3 separate regions of the Homo sapiens genome follow, and all the other regions are linked to region 2. The links are contacts of gene promoters, found by promoter capture Hi-C in human tissues and cell types (Jung and others, 2019). All regions are on one chromosome and are shown on one strand. Each heading gives the region's core, a stretch centred on a gene start or on the middle of the fragment in contact. The rest is flanking DNA. Distances are from core to core; before and after follow the strand shown.

The links. The method cuts DNA at HindIII sites, captures the fragments that hold promoters and counts their contacts. A contact is called where the count stands out against the background at its distance.
Region 1: a contact is called between a fragment that was not itself captured here and the fragment with the promoter of CRELD1 in region 2, in 1 of the 25 tissues and cell types used here (dorsolateral prefrontal cortex).
Region 3: a contact is called between the fragment with the promoter of THUMPD3 here and the fragment with the promoter of CRELD1 in region 2, in 2 of the 25 tissues and cell types used here (hippocampus and spleen).

What each region holds. Positions count from the first base shown.
Region 1 is chr3:10,727,769-10,732,151 of GRCh38, reverse strand. No RefSeq gene overlaps it. Among named protein-coding and RNA genes, the nearest start is that of LINC00606, 34 kb to the left of the region's middle. The HindIII fragment of the contact is 5,529 bases long and covers 1-4,383 here.
Region 2 is chr3:9,930,660-9,935,083 of GRCh38, reverse strand. CRELD1 (CRELD disulfide isomerase 1) reads right to left here and starts at 1,250. Exons shown (of 11, transcript NM_001077415.3): 1 at 1,164-1,250; 2 at 472-664; 3 at 167-249. The coding sequence starts at 645. IL17RC (interleukin 17 receptor C) reads right to left here. Exons shown (of 19, transcript NM_153460.4): 16 at 4,141-4,189; 17 at 2,381-2,476; 18 at 2,226-2,264; 19 at 1,463-2,131. The coding sequence ends at 1,491. RefSeq lists an enhancer at 839-1,208 and silencers at 1,309-1,638, 2,219-2,278. The HindIII fragment of the contact is 22,722 bases long and covers 1-4,424 here.
Region 3 is chr3:9,360,771-9,364,605 of GRCh38, reverse strand. It overlaps THUMPD3 (THUMP domain 3 tRNA guanosine methyltransferase), which reads right to left and starts at 1,552. Exons shown (of 10, transcript NM_001114092.2): 1 at 1,479-1,552. It also overlaps a transcript of SRGAP3 not described here. RefSeq lists enhancers at 1,103-1,162, 1,183-1,262, 1,333-1,392, 1,613-1,822. The HindIII fragment of the contact is 11,864 bases long and covers 1-3,835 here.

The DNA.
Region 1 (4,383 bases), core at 547-3,046, 800 kb before region 2:
TCCAATAACTGGAAACCATTGTTTTATATAATTTTGTCTGTTTTTCTTTTTTAAGGTGATGTGTGTGTGGGTGGGGGGGTGTGTGTGTGTGTGTGTGTGTGTGTGTAAGAGAGAGCGAGAGAGAGAGAGAGAAAGAAGCTGGTCACTGTTACTCCACTGTGGCCAAAAGAAAAAGTTCCTATTATTTGTTATTAAATCTTTATCAATTTGCTTGGTAAAACTGGTTTCTCATTGCTTTAAATTTCTAACATGTTTCACTACTATCAAGTTTTAAATTTTTTTTTCAAGTATATACAAGCCATTTATAATGCCTCTTTTGTTCACATAGCCTTTGCTCATTTTTCTAGTGAGGATGTCTTAGTGTTTCTTACTTATTTTTATCTGCTCTTTAAAGCTATTATCCTTTATCAATTTGTTGTGGATAATTTGTCATCTGTTACTCTTTAAAATAAATTATTTTATTGCAATACACATATAGAAAAGTGCACAAATGATAAGTGAATTACTTGATGAATTATCACAGTGAACATACCTCTGTGACTACCACTAAGTTCAATAATTAAAGCCTTGCCAGCAACCTAGAAACCTCCCTTTGTGCCCCTGCTATTCATTACCACTACCTTCTTCCCAAAAAATAACCATATCCTAACATCTAACAACATCAGTTAGGTTTGCCTGTTTGAACTTTATAGAAATAGAATCATACAGTATGTCTTTTTGTATCTGACCTCTTTCATTCAACATTATAATTGTGAAATACATTCACGTTGTTGCATGCAGTAATAATCTGCCCTTTGTTATTGCTGTGTGAGTATACAATTTATTGATCTGTTCTACTGTTGATGAAAATTTGGGTTGTTACCAGTTTGGGGCTATTTTGAGTAACAACTGCTTTCTCTTATTTTTCACATTTAGATCTAAAGTCCATCTACCATAATTTTTTGCATGTGGAGTGAGGTAGGGGTCTGGGCTCATTTTTTCACTGTGTAATTATTCAGTTGATCCAGCTCTATTTATTGAGCTCTGTTTCATTCCACTGGCATTTTTGCCCATCTTTGTTTTAATATCACTATTGTGGGCTGAATGCTTGTGTCCCCCCAAAATTTACACATTTAAATCCCATCCCCCAGTGTGATGATATTAGGATGTGTAGCCTTTGGGGGGTAATTAGGTCATGAGGGTGGTGCCCTCCTGAATGGTACCCTTATAAGAGAGGCCCCAGAGAGCTTTCTCACACTTTCTGCTGTGGGAGTACACAGCGAGTTTCACTCACGTCTGTGTGAAGAGACCACCAAACAGGCTTTGTGTGAGCAACAAGGCTGTTTATTTCACCTGGGTGCAGGCGGGTTGAGTCCGAAAAGAGTCAGCGAAGGGAGATAGGGGCGGGGCCATTTTATAAGATTTGGGTAGGTAAAGGAAAATTACGGTCAAAGGGGGATTGTTCTCTGGCGAGCAGGGCTGGGGGTCACAAGGTGCTCAGCGGGGGAGCTTTTGAGCCAGGATGAGCCAGGAGAAGGAATTTCACAAGGTAATGTCATCAGTTAAGGCAGGAACAGGCCATTTTCACTTCTTTTGTGGTGGAATGTCATCAGTTAAGGCAGGAACCGGCCATCTGGATGTGTACGTGCAGGTCACAGGGGATATGATGGCTTAGCTTGGGCTCAGAGGCCTAACAGCGAGAAGACATTGTCTGTGAATCTGAATGTTGGCCTCCACCAGACACTGAATCTGCTAGTGCCGTATTTTGGACTCCCCAGCCTCCAGAATTGTGAAAAATAAATGTTTGTTGTTTAAGCTGCCCAATCTATGGTATTTTTGTTATAACAGCCTAAATGGACTAAGATAATCACACTGTCTTAGTTACTGCAAGTTTATATCTTGATAGCTAGGAGTGCACATATTCTTACCTTGTTCTTTTCCATTTTTATCAAGGAGGAGATCAGCTTCTCCTTCTTGCAAACCAAAACAGTGATAATGCAAATCAAGGCACATTTGGAATTCTCTGCTGCAGAAGCCTCCCGAGGCTCATGCCTGGAATCTCTTAACCCACCCTCTCCCACCTGCTTTTGTTTCTGGGACTGAGAGTCTGGATTCTGACAAGCCTGAGTTCGAATCTCGTGTCTGCCCCTAACTGTGAGAATTTGGGCAAGTTGCTCCTCTTTCTGGGCCTCTGTTTCCTCATTTATAACACGGGAATAGTCATAGTACCTAACTCAAAAGGTTACTGTGAGGCTTAAATGAGACTATATAAAATGCTAAACACAATGCAGCAATGGACAGATCAGCATCACCATGATCATCACCGCCCCATAGTTCCTGTCACCGGGAGAGGACAGACCCTCAAGTTGACCATCTTGCTGCATTCACACTGATCATGGGGTCCCTTCTGAGAACTGAGCTTCAGCTTTTTTCTTGAGCCAAGGCCTCTCTTTCTGTCTTCCCACACACTGCTAGCTCAGCCCTTGGCTCCAGAGACTCAGCCCCTGTACTCTCCCACGTGTTGTTAGTGGGCCCAGCTCCAGGCAAGTTTCAGGGTTGGAGGCAAATGCCAGCTCCACTGAGGTCTCCCTTGCCCACACCCCCATCCCAGTGAAGAGGAGGTTACCAAAAGGAGGAAAGGAAGGAAAGAATCCTCTTTCCCTTCCTCAGGCAGGAAGGACTGGGTGAGAAAAGGTGTGGAGGTGAAAACAGGCATGACAAGTGTTCTGGTTACCTATTACTGCAAAATAAATCACCCTAAAATTTAGTGGCTTAAAATAACAACTATGTTATTCTCTCTCATGGTTTCTGTGGGTCAGGAAATCAAAGAGGGCTCAGCTAGATGGTTCTTGTTTGGCGTCTCCCCTAGGTTGCAGTGAGTCAGCGGCCTGAGCATCTCTGTCTTCATGTAGTCTCGGGACCTCCCCATGTGATCTCTGCGTGGGCTAGTTTGGGCTTCCTCACAGCATGGTGGCCTCAGAGCAGTCAGCTGCCTTACATAGTGGCTTGGAGCTCCAAATGCAAATGTCCAAAAAGACTCAGGTGGAAGCTGCATCGCCTTTTATGATGTATCCTTAGAGGTCAAATACAGTTGACCCTTAAACAACATCAGCACCAACCCCTTGCACAGTCAAAAATCCATGCATAACTTTTGACTCCTCCAAAATTTAACTGCGGATAGCCTACTGTTGACTGGAAGCCTTACCAATAACATAAACAGTTGATTAACACATATTTTATATGTATTACCTACCGTATTCTTACAATAAAGTAAGCTAGAGAAAAAACGTTATTAAGAAAACCATCAGGATTAGCCAGGAGTGGTGGCAGGTGTCTGTAATCCCAGCTACTTGGGAGGCTGAGACAGGAGAATTGCTTGAACCCAGGAGGTGGAGGTTGCAGTGAGCTGAGACCGTGCCACTTGCACTCCAGCCTGGGCAACAGAGTGAGACTCCGTCTCAAAAAAAAAAAAATTCAGGAAGAAAAGATATATTTACTATTCATTAAGTGGAAGTGGGTCATCATAAAGGTGATGATTCATTGTCATCATCTTCACACTGAGTAGCCTGAGGAAGAGGAAGGATTGGTCTTGCTATCCCAGGGATGACAGAGGCAGAAGAAAATCTGGGTATAAGGGGACCCGTTGCAATTCAAACCTGTGTTGTTGAAGAGTCAACTGTAATGTCATGTCTACCGAACTCTGTTGGTGAAAATAGTCAGAAAAGCCTATCTAGTTTGAAGGGGAGGGGACGTAAACTCCACCTCTCAATGAAAGGAAAGTCAAAGTCACACTATAAGCAGAGCATGTGGAATGGGAGATAATATTGCATTCCTCTTTGGAAAATACAGTCTTGTCACAGCAAGTCTGAAGGACATGCAGGAAACAATTTTGGCTGTACCAAGAGAGTCTATGTGGTAGTTTGAGGAATTAATCTTGTGGAGGTTGGGAGCTAGCAGTGAGCTTGTTTGAAAGGATGTGTTTAGACTTGGCCTGGAGGCATAGGGGAGCAAAGAAGGTCTGTAAAATCAGGAGCTTTGCATGGCTTGGAGGGAGGTAAAATTTAGTCCTGCTCTGGGAAAGGATAAAGAAAGGAGAACTACTTAGGGATGGCAACAATACCGTACGGCTGTCTCAACCTGTGTGCCTCTGGGACCCCCAGGGTCTTCTTCTTCTGTGCTGGGGCTCAAACACACATTGGCATTACTTTTCCACCTGCCAATATTACGGTTATTGCTTTTCCACCTCCAAGAATTTTGTGAAGTTTTGTTTTGTTTTTGCAGGATCGTGATTTTCCATTAGTCAGGGGCACACTGATAGTTCTCTTTTTCTCCCAGAGTATTAGCAATTGCTAATGCAGCATCATCTGCAGTTGTTTTAGTGCTGTGGGATGTAACAGTGGATGA
Region 2 (4,424 bases), core at 1-2,500:
TCCAGGAAGGGGGCATTTTGCTTGCCTTGTTTACTGCTATACTATAGATGTTCAGTGCTATTTGTTGAATGAATAAGTGCTCCCCAAGAGTTCCTAGCCCTACACCAGCAGAGCAGAGATTTGGCGGGGAGGGGAATATACACCCCTTCCCCCAGCAGCCCCTTACCTGTCTTTGTATTTGGACAAATTCTCTTCCTCCCAGGCAGTGTTTCCACCTCCAAAGTTGTCCCGGATGGTTCTCTCCAGGCCCTGGAAACAGAAAATTAGTAATAGCTAAGTACAGTGCCTGGCACATGCTAGCACTTCACTGTTCTACTGACTAGGAAACTGAGGCACAGAAAGGCAACCTGCCTAGGGCCATACAACTAGTAAGAGACCAAGATGAAACTTAAATCCACGCAGATTTGCATCCCAGAGTTCCCCACTCTAAATCGCTGTGTTCCCCTCTAACGAGGCTGCCGGTGCACCCACCTTGTTAAAGCTGTCAACCAGTCCCCGGCAGGTATGACACGGATGGGGCTGAGGCGGGGGAGAAGACTGGGGAGGTGGAGAGGGCTGGAGCCAGATAGGTCCTGGGAGGTTGAGGAAGAGGCTGAGGCCCCAGAGCATAGCTGGGACTAGGCCCTTCGGGGGCCATGGGGCCATCTTTACCCAGGCTGGGGACCTGCAGATAGAGGGCGTGGAGAGGCTTCACTGAAGGAGTCAGGCCCCACGCGAGAAAGAAAAAGGTCTGTTCTAAGGTGCCGTGGCGCTGGGATCTGCGTTATTACAAGCAAAAGAGGCCAAACTGGGTATTGCAGGGGCTGTGGGGATGGGTGGGGAAAGGCGCATAAGATGCAATTCCAGAAGAGAAATAAGTTATCCTCGCTAGCATGGGGTGGAGAGGAAAGTGGCCTCGCTCCTTGACAAGGGGGCAGAAGTCAGCCTCTTGTCTGAGGGTCTGATAAAGAATATTAGGGGCCGGATCCGCAGAATTAGGGAGAAGAGATCAGATTCCAAGTACTGAAGGAGAGGAGGCCAGAGGGGTTGTCTTGGGGGAGGTGTCCGGAACCCCGGGCTTGGAGGGAGGAGCCCGGATCCGGATATGAAGGGAAGGGATCAGATTCAGGGCCTCGCAGAAGGGCAAAGGCACGGCCCACGAGCCGGCAGAGAAGGATCCAGACCCTCGTAGGCCACGGAGAAGGAAGAAGCGACCGCCCCAGCCCGCGGGCGCCGTGGGCCGTCTCCTCACCGCGTCGCTGCCACAGCCTGCGTAAAACGCACAACCCCCACCCGCGCCGCAGTCCAGGGGGCGGAGCTTGCCGCCCAGCCAATGGCGACGGGCCATGTGCCATTACGTCACCCCACGCCAGCCAACCAGAGGCGGCACCGAGCTGCACCTGTCCGGGCTTTAAAGGGCCGCGGGGCTAGGGAATGACGTTTGCCAGCCCCGCCACTGAAACGGAGACGCGTGTGGGCCACATGGGTAGAAAAACAGCGTCTGCCTTTATTTAAGTCCCGTCCCCCGCCCCAGGTCCCGCGCCTGGTCCCACCCCGCGTCCCGGCGCGGGAGTCCCCGGGGGATGGAAGTAGCTATCCAGGGCTGGCTGAAGGGCCCGGGACACTTGCTCCGCTCTCTCTTGGAGCCGCCCGGAACGCGGGGCGCGAGGCTGCTGCAGGGCCCCCAGGAAGTCTGGCAGTTGGGAGGGCAGTGTGAAGACGGGCACGGTGCGGAAAAGGGCGGGTACGGCGTCCGGGTGGAGCAGCCTGTCGAAGCAGGCCCCCACGTAGCTGCCGGGCGCCCGGCCCTGCAAGAAGTCGGGCAGCACGCAGCTGAGCGAGGCGCGGAAGGCGTCGTGCGGGCCGTGCGCCCCGGGCCCGGACACCCCATCCTGTAGCCACTCGCTGCACAGCGCCACCGCACCGGGAGAGAAGAGCAAGACCACCACGCCGCCCTCCTGCAGGGTCTGGCGCCGCTGCGCGTGAAACCAAGCCACGGGCCCCTGCGCGCTCAGTTCACGACGGCTCCACAGGTCTACGGCCACGCGCAGCGGCAGCTGGCACAGGGCCGACGCCAGGGCGCCCACCAGGCGCTCGAAACCCGAGTCATCGGCTGAGTAGAGGAGCAGAGCCGCGCGGCCCCTGGCGGCCGCTGCCGGAGAAAACAGATGGGGAGGGAAGAGGTGAGCTGGCACAGGCCTGGCTCCCCGGGGGCGGCCCTCCGCCCAGCGCTTGCTCCCACTCACCCCCCGAGCGGACGTCCTGTTTCAAGAGCCTCAGCCACCCTGTTAGGGGAGAGGGGCGGAGGCAGCCAGTGAGCTCGGCCGCCGCTTTCCCTCGGAGAACTCCCACAGCCACTCTGGTCCTCCCCCAGGGGAATGGGGAGCCGGGAAGCGCTCACCTTTCGCGTGATCCTTTTTGAGAAGGAGGATGAGGGAAAGCGCAGCGGCAAAGAGTAGGCAGGCCAGCCACACGAGGGCCCAGCGCTTGTGGATGTCTGGGAGACCCAGAGAAGAAGAGTTAGAAACTTACCCTCCACAGAGAAGAAAAACTGAGACTTAACAGAAATGAATTGGGCCGGGTGCGGTGGCTCATGCCTTTATATAATCCCAGCACTTCGGGAGGCCGAGGCGGGCAGATCACGAGGTCAGGACATCAAGACCATCCTGGCTAACACGGTGAAACCCCGTCTCTACTAAAAATACAAAAAATTAGCCGGGCGTGGTGGCACACGCCTGTAATCCCAGCTACTCGGGAGGCTGAGGCAAGAGAATCGCTTGAACTCGGGAGGCAGAGGTTGCAGTGAGCCGAGATCGCGCCATTGCACTCCAGCCTGGGCGACAGGGTGAGACTCCTCTCAAAACAAAACAAAACAAAACAAAAAACGAAGAAATGATTTGCCCAGAGTCCACAGCACAGTGTCAGAGCCAGTGGATGAATATAGCTCCATCTGTTTAGGGGTCTTTGAATAAGTAATGTCACCCTCTGCCTCAGTTTTCTCCTCTGTAAAGTTGTACCTGTGTCATAGGGTTGGTGTGAGGACTAAATATATTAATACATATAAAGCTTAACACAATGTGTTAATACATACTTAACACAATGCCGAGCATCTTAAGTGCTAAAATGTCAGCTGTTTTTCTCCCCTAAGCTAGGGTTGCTGGGCCCTTGATCTTGCTGTCCTGGGTGTCTGCAACTACCTGGTGTCCCTGCCCTGTCTTTTTTTTTTTTTTTTTACCTCCAATTGATTTGCCTTGAATTGATTCATGACAGCCTCAGAGATCTTTTAAAAATATAAATTTGGGCCAGGTGCGGTGACTCACGACTATAATCCCAGCACTTTGGGAGGCCGACGCGGGCGGATCACGAGGTCAGGAGTTCAAGACCAGCCTGGCCAAGATGGTGAAACCCCATCTCTACTAAAAATACAAAAATTAGCAGGGCATGGTGGCAGGCGCCTATTAATCCCAGCTACCCGGGAGGCTGAGGTAGAGAATTGCTTGAACCCGGGAGGCAGAGGTTGCAGTTAGCCGAGATCGCGCCATTGCACTCCAGCCTGGGCAACAGAGTGAGACTCTGCCTCAAAAATAAATAAAAAAATAAGTATATATATATATATATATATATATATATATATGTGTGTGTGTGTGTGTGAAATATATAAAAATTTGATCGTAGCTCCTGCTGCTCTCAACATAAGATCCAAATCCCCTACATGTCTCCTGCATCTTTATCTCATGACAGAAACCTGCCTGTCCAAGACCCTGTATCTCTACCCCCTTCCCCTAGCTCAGTCTTCAGAGTTTTGCTGGAACCTTCCCCCTGAGCCCCTCACCCCTCACCCCACCCAGGTCAGGTCCACATTGTATGCATTTACAGCACTGAACACTTGGTGGTGCTTCAGTAGCTCCCACTTTAAATGTAAGTGACTGGCTCATGTCTTGCTAGTCTTCTAGGGGTGGGGCGGGGGCAAGGATTTATATTTTTGGTGTTCCTGCGATCCCTGCAAGCTCTCATCATTTTTTGAGTGAATGAAGGAATGACCCTCTGTTTATCTGATCTCAGGGAAGGACAAGGCCATTGCATGTGCTGTGCCCAAGAGTGGTCCCTGTCAAGATCCCCACTCCTGGTACAGAAAGGAAAGGCAGTTCTTACAATACTCACATTTGTCCATGGGGCAGGCCCATAGCGCTCCCAAGTCATCGTCCCATAGCTGTAAGATACAAACAGAACCAAATCCAGGGCACCAGCCAGGTGTTCCAATATTCACCAAGCTCTGGTGGCCTGATCTCCAAATTCCCAGCATCAACTATGCATATCTCCCGGCTAAGGTTCCTGCAGCTGCTCTGCCTTTGTGCTGTGCCCACTGACTAGGGTATGACTTCTTCCATACCAAATCTGGCTTATAGGAAGAAATTCTTCCCGGAAGCTCTCCCTGGAACCCAAAA
Region 3 (3,835 bases), core at 303-2,802, 570 kb after region 2:
GGAGGCCGAGGCGGGCAGATTGCCTGAGGTCAGGAGTTCAAGACCAGCCTGGCCCACATGGTGAAACCCCGTCTCTACTAAAAATACAAACATTAGCCAGGTGTGGTGGTGGGAGCCTGTAATCCCAGCTACTTGGGAGGCTGAGGGAGGAGAATTGCTTGAATCCGGGAGGTGGAGATTGCAGTGAGCTGAGATCATGCCACTGCACTCCGGCTGGGGTAACAGAACAAGACTCTGTCTCAAAAAAATAAATAAATAAATAAAATAAATAATAATAATAATAATAATATGGGGCTTTTGGAGTTTCAGATAGATACAGGTTTGAATTCTTGCCTCCACCATCATAGGTTGAATGACTTATGGCAAATTAATTCTCCCAAACCTTCAAATGTAATTAAGTAATTAGTAATACCTCTTTCCTAGAGTCGTTAGGAGACAAGTGAGAGTAGTACCTGGTTAGGCCAATAATTAAAACTTATTAATAGGCTATCTATCTTCTTCCCTCCTGTGAAATAGCATTTCATGCATTTAAAAATGATTAACTGGGCTGGGCACACTGGCTCATGCCTGTAATCCCAGCACTTTAGGGAGCTGAGGTGAGTAGATTGCTTGAGGCCAAGAGTTCGAGACCAATCTGCGTAAGATGGCAAAATCTCATCTCTACCAAAAACACAAAAAATAGCTGGGCGTGGTGGTGGGCGCCTGGAGTCCAGCTACTTGGGAGGCTGAGGTGGGAGGACTGCACTCCAGCCTGGGTGACACAGTGAGGCCCTGTCTCAAAAAAAAAAAAAAAAAAAAAGAAAAAATTAAAAATAAAAATGGTTAACTGAATACTTACTATCTAATGATTACAAATGTTCAAACGCCTACTACTTGCCAGACTCTGGGATCCATAGATGGGCATCAGGAGAGAGATCTTGGAAGTAATCCGAAATAGTAAAACAAATTTCCTATGCATAAGCTTTTGTGTGTGCTTGGGGTGGGGGCCGGGGGAAGTATTAGAGAGGTGGAGGGGCCATAGCTTACACGAGATTTTCAAAAGGTCTGTGACTCAAAATAACTTAATTGAGTACAGAATACCTATAATGTCCTTGTGCTGTGCCAGCGATACACGACAGTGTTTAACACTACGTCAGTTCCCGCCGTTAAAAAGCTGACAGTCACTGTGAATACAATCTCCATCTTCTAAAAAATGCAGCTGAGGTCAGCTAAAGGACGCGTTCCGCACAAGGTCAGAGAGCCAATGAGAGGCGCAGAATGAAAGAGAACTCACGTCTCCCAACTCCCACCTACAGGGCCCGGGAATCCTAGGGAGCGGGTAAAGGCCTGGGAGAGGGAGCAAGATGGGCTCCGCCACGAGATCCGCCTGAAGTCCGGCTCGGCGCCGGCCTCAACTGCAAGAGGAAGGCCACCCCTCTCTCCCCAAGCTGAAACACCAGAAGAGCCACACTCGGCCGTTCCCAACCGCCGCCAGTTACCGGCCGCCAGCGAAGACCCTTTCAGCTCCCACACTCCATTGGCCTCTTGCGGTCAGGTCACGCCGCCGGAAGCCGCCCCCGGAAACGGAAGTCAGGCTACGAGTCACGGTGGCTCCGCGCTGGCGGCGGGTTCCCCCACAAGGTCTTGGGGAAAGGAGCATGCGCTGGAAGCTGTGTGCTGTTGGTTTTGAGGATCTTCAGTAAGCTGAAAGCGGAGAGTCAGGGGCCTTGTGTCCTACCATGGTATTTGCTAACGTTTAGAGAGTGCTTCCCCTTGCCGAGCACTGGGTAAGCGCTTCACATGCGTCATCTCATTTGGAACAAGTCTCTTTTGTTCTAGCACCTATGAAGTGGCAGAGACTGATTTCTGTTTTAAAGCTGGAGACACCGAGTCTCTCCAGCTTATTTAAATATCTTTCTCAAAATGTCATGCCACTAGTTCCTGATTTCTGTATTGCCATCACTATTTTAGCACTGTTTACTTCATATTTTTCTTTAGTTTAAAAAAAATAGAAATAGTGGGGCTCACTATGTTGCCTAAGCTGGTCTCGAACATCTGGGTTCAAGTGATTCTTCTGTCTAGCCCTCCTAAAGTGCTGGGATTACAGGCATGAGCCACTGTGCCCAATCAGATGAACTTTATTTCTCATAAAGGGTTGAACCTGGCCGGGCACAGTGGCTCATGCCTGTAATCCCAGCACTTTGGGAGGCTGAGGCGGGTGGATCACTTGAGGTCAGGAGTTTGAGGCCAGGCTGGCCAACATGGTGAAACTCCATCTCTACTAAAAATACAAAAGTTAGCTGGATGTGGTGGCCTGCACCTGTAGTCCTAGCTACTTGGGAAGATGAAGCAGAAGAGTTGCTTACCCAGGAGGCAGAGGTTGCAGAGAGCCAAGATTGTGCCACTGCACTCCAGTCTGGGAGCAAGACATCATCTCAAAAAAAAAAAAAAAAAAAAAAAAAAAGAGTTGAACCTGCATGGTAGCCATTTTGACAGACTGGGAAGCCTAGCTTCCAGTCAGAAGCCAAAAACAGGCACTTCCAGGGTTGGAAGAATAAGACAGGGATTTATGCTAAACACAGTGGCCAAATATACATGTTAAATAAACTGTAAGAGGGGTCACGAATATTTATGAAAGGAGCAATTTGTGCATGTGCAGTTGAGCTTCATGCCTCTCTGTGGATCCCATGTTTAAAAAATGGTGGCCTTAGCATGATCCAAGGGTAGAGTTTTCTACCGCTTGACTTCAAAAGGTGAAGCAGGGGATGTGAAAACCCTCACTGCACGTCCTCTGTCGACTGGCCAGAACCACTCCCTGGATGGTGGGTGATCTCTTATCAGGAAGGAATGCTAGTCGGTTGTTCTATTGAAACTGCAAATGGGAGGGTCAGCATCAGGCTGGTGGAGTGAGTCTTTCAAAAGGGCTGGTTTCTGTTTAACCCTTAGGAAAGAAAATCTAATGGCGATTATAGAGGGAGGGGTTATAAAGAGGTGTGTCCGACTTCCCATCCTGTCATGAGTAGGAACTCAGCTTCCAAGTTTTTTCTAGGGTCTCCTTGGCCAAGAGAGGGCCTGTTCAGTCAGTTGGGGGGCATAGAATTTTATTTTTATTTTTCAGTTGACAAAAGTTAACTTATTGTGAAAGGAACCCAACAACAAAAAGATAAACCGAATTTAAAACAAAACAAAACCAAAAAGAACACAATTTATAAATGTGCAAAGGGGCTGGGAGTGGTGGTTCATGCCTGTAGTCCCAGCGCTTTGGGAGGCTGAGGTGAGTGGCTCGCTTGAGCTCAGAGTTTGAGACTAGCTCTGGCAACATGGCAAAACTCTGTCGCTACAAAAAAATGACAAAAATTAGCTAGGCATGGTGACACTCACCTGTAGTCCCAGCTACTCGGGAGGCTGAGACAGGAGAATAGCTTGAGCTGGGGAGGTTGAGGCTGTAATGAGTTATGATCACATCACTGCACTTCAGCCCAGGTGACAGAGTGAGACCTTGTCTCAAAAATAAAATGAAAAATATGTAAAGGGCTTGAATAGATATTTCTCCAAAAGATGGACAAATGGCCAATAAGCACATGAAAAGATGCTGAACATCATTAGTCATTAGGGAATTGCAAATTAATCACAATGGGATACTCATCAAAATGACTAAAAGTAAAAAACAAAAAATCAACAGTTCCAAGTTCTAATGAGTATGTGGGGCAATGGAGCACTTATACATTGCTGATGAAAATACAAAATGATATATGCCCTGGTATGTTTTAGCTCTGTGACTCCACCTAAATTTCATCTTGAAGTATACTCCCATAATTCCCATATATTGTGGGAGGGACCCAGTGGGAGATGATTG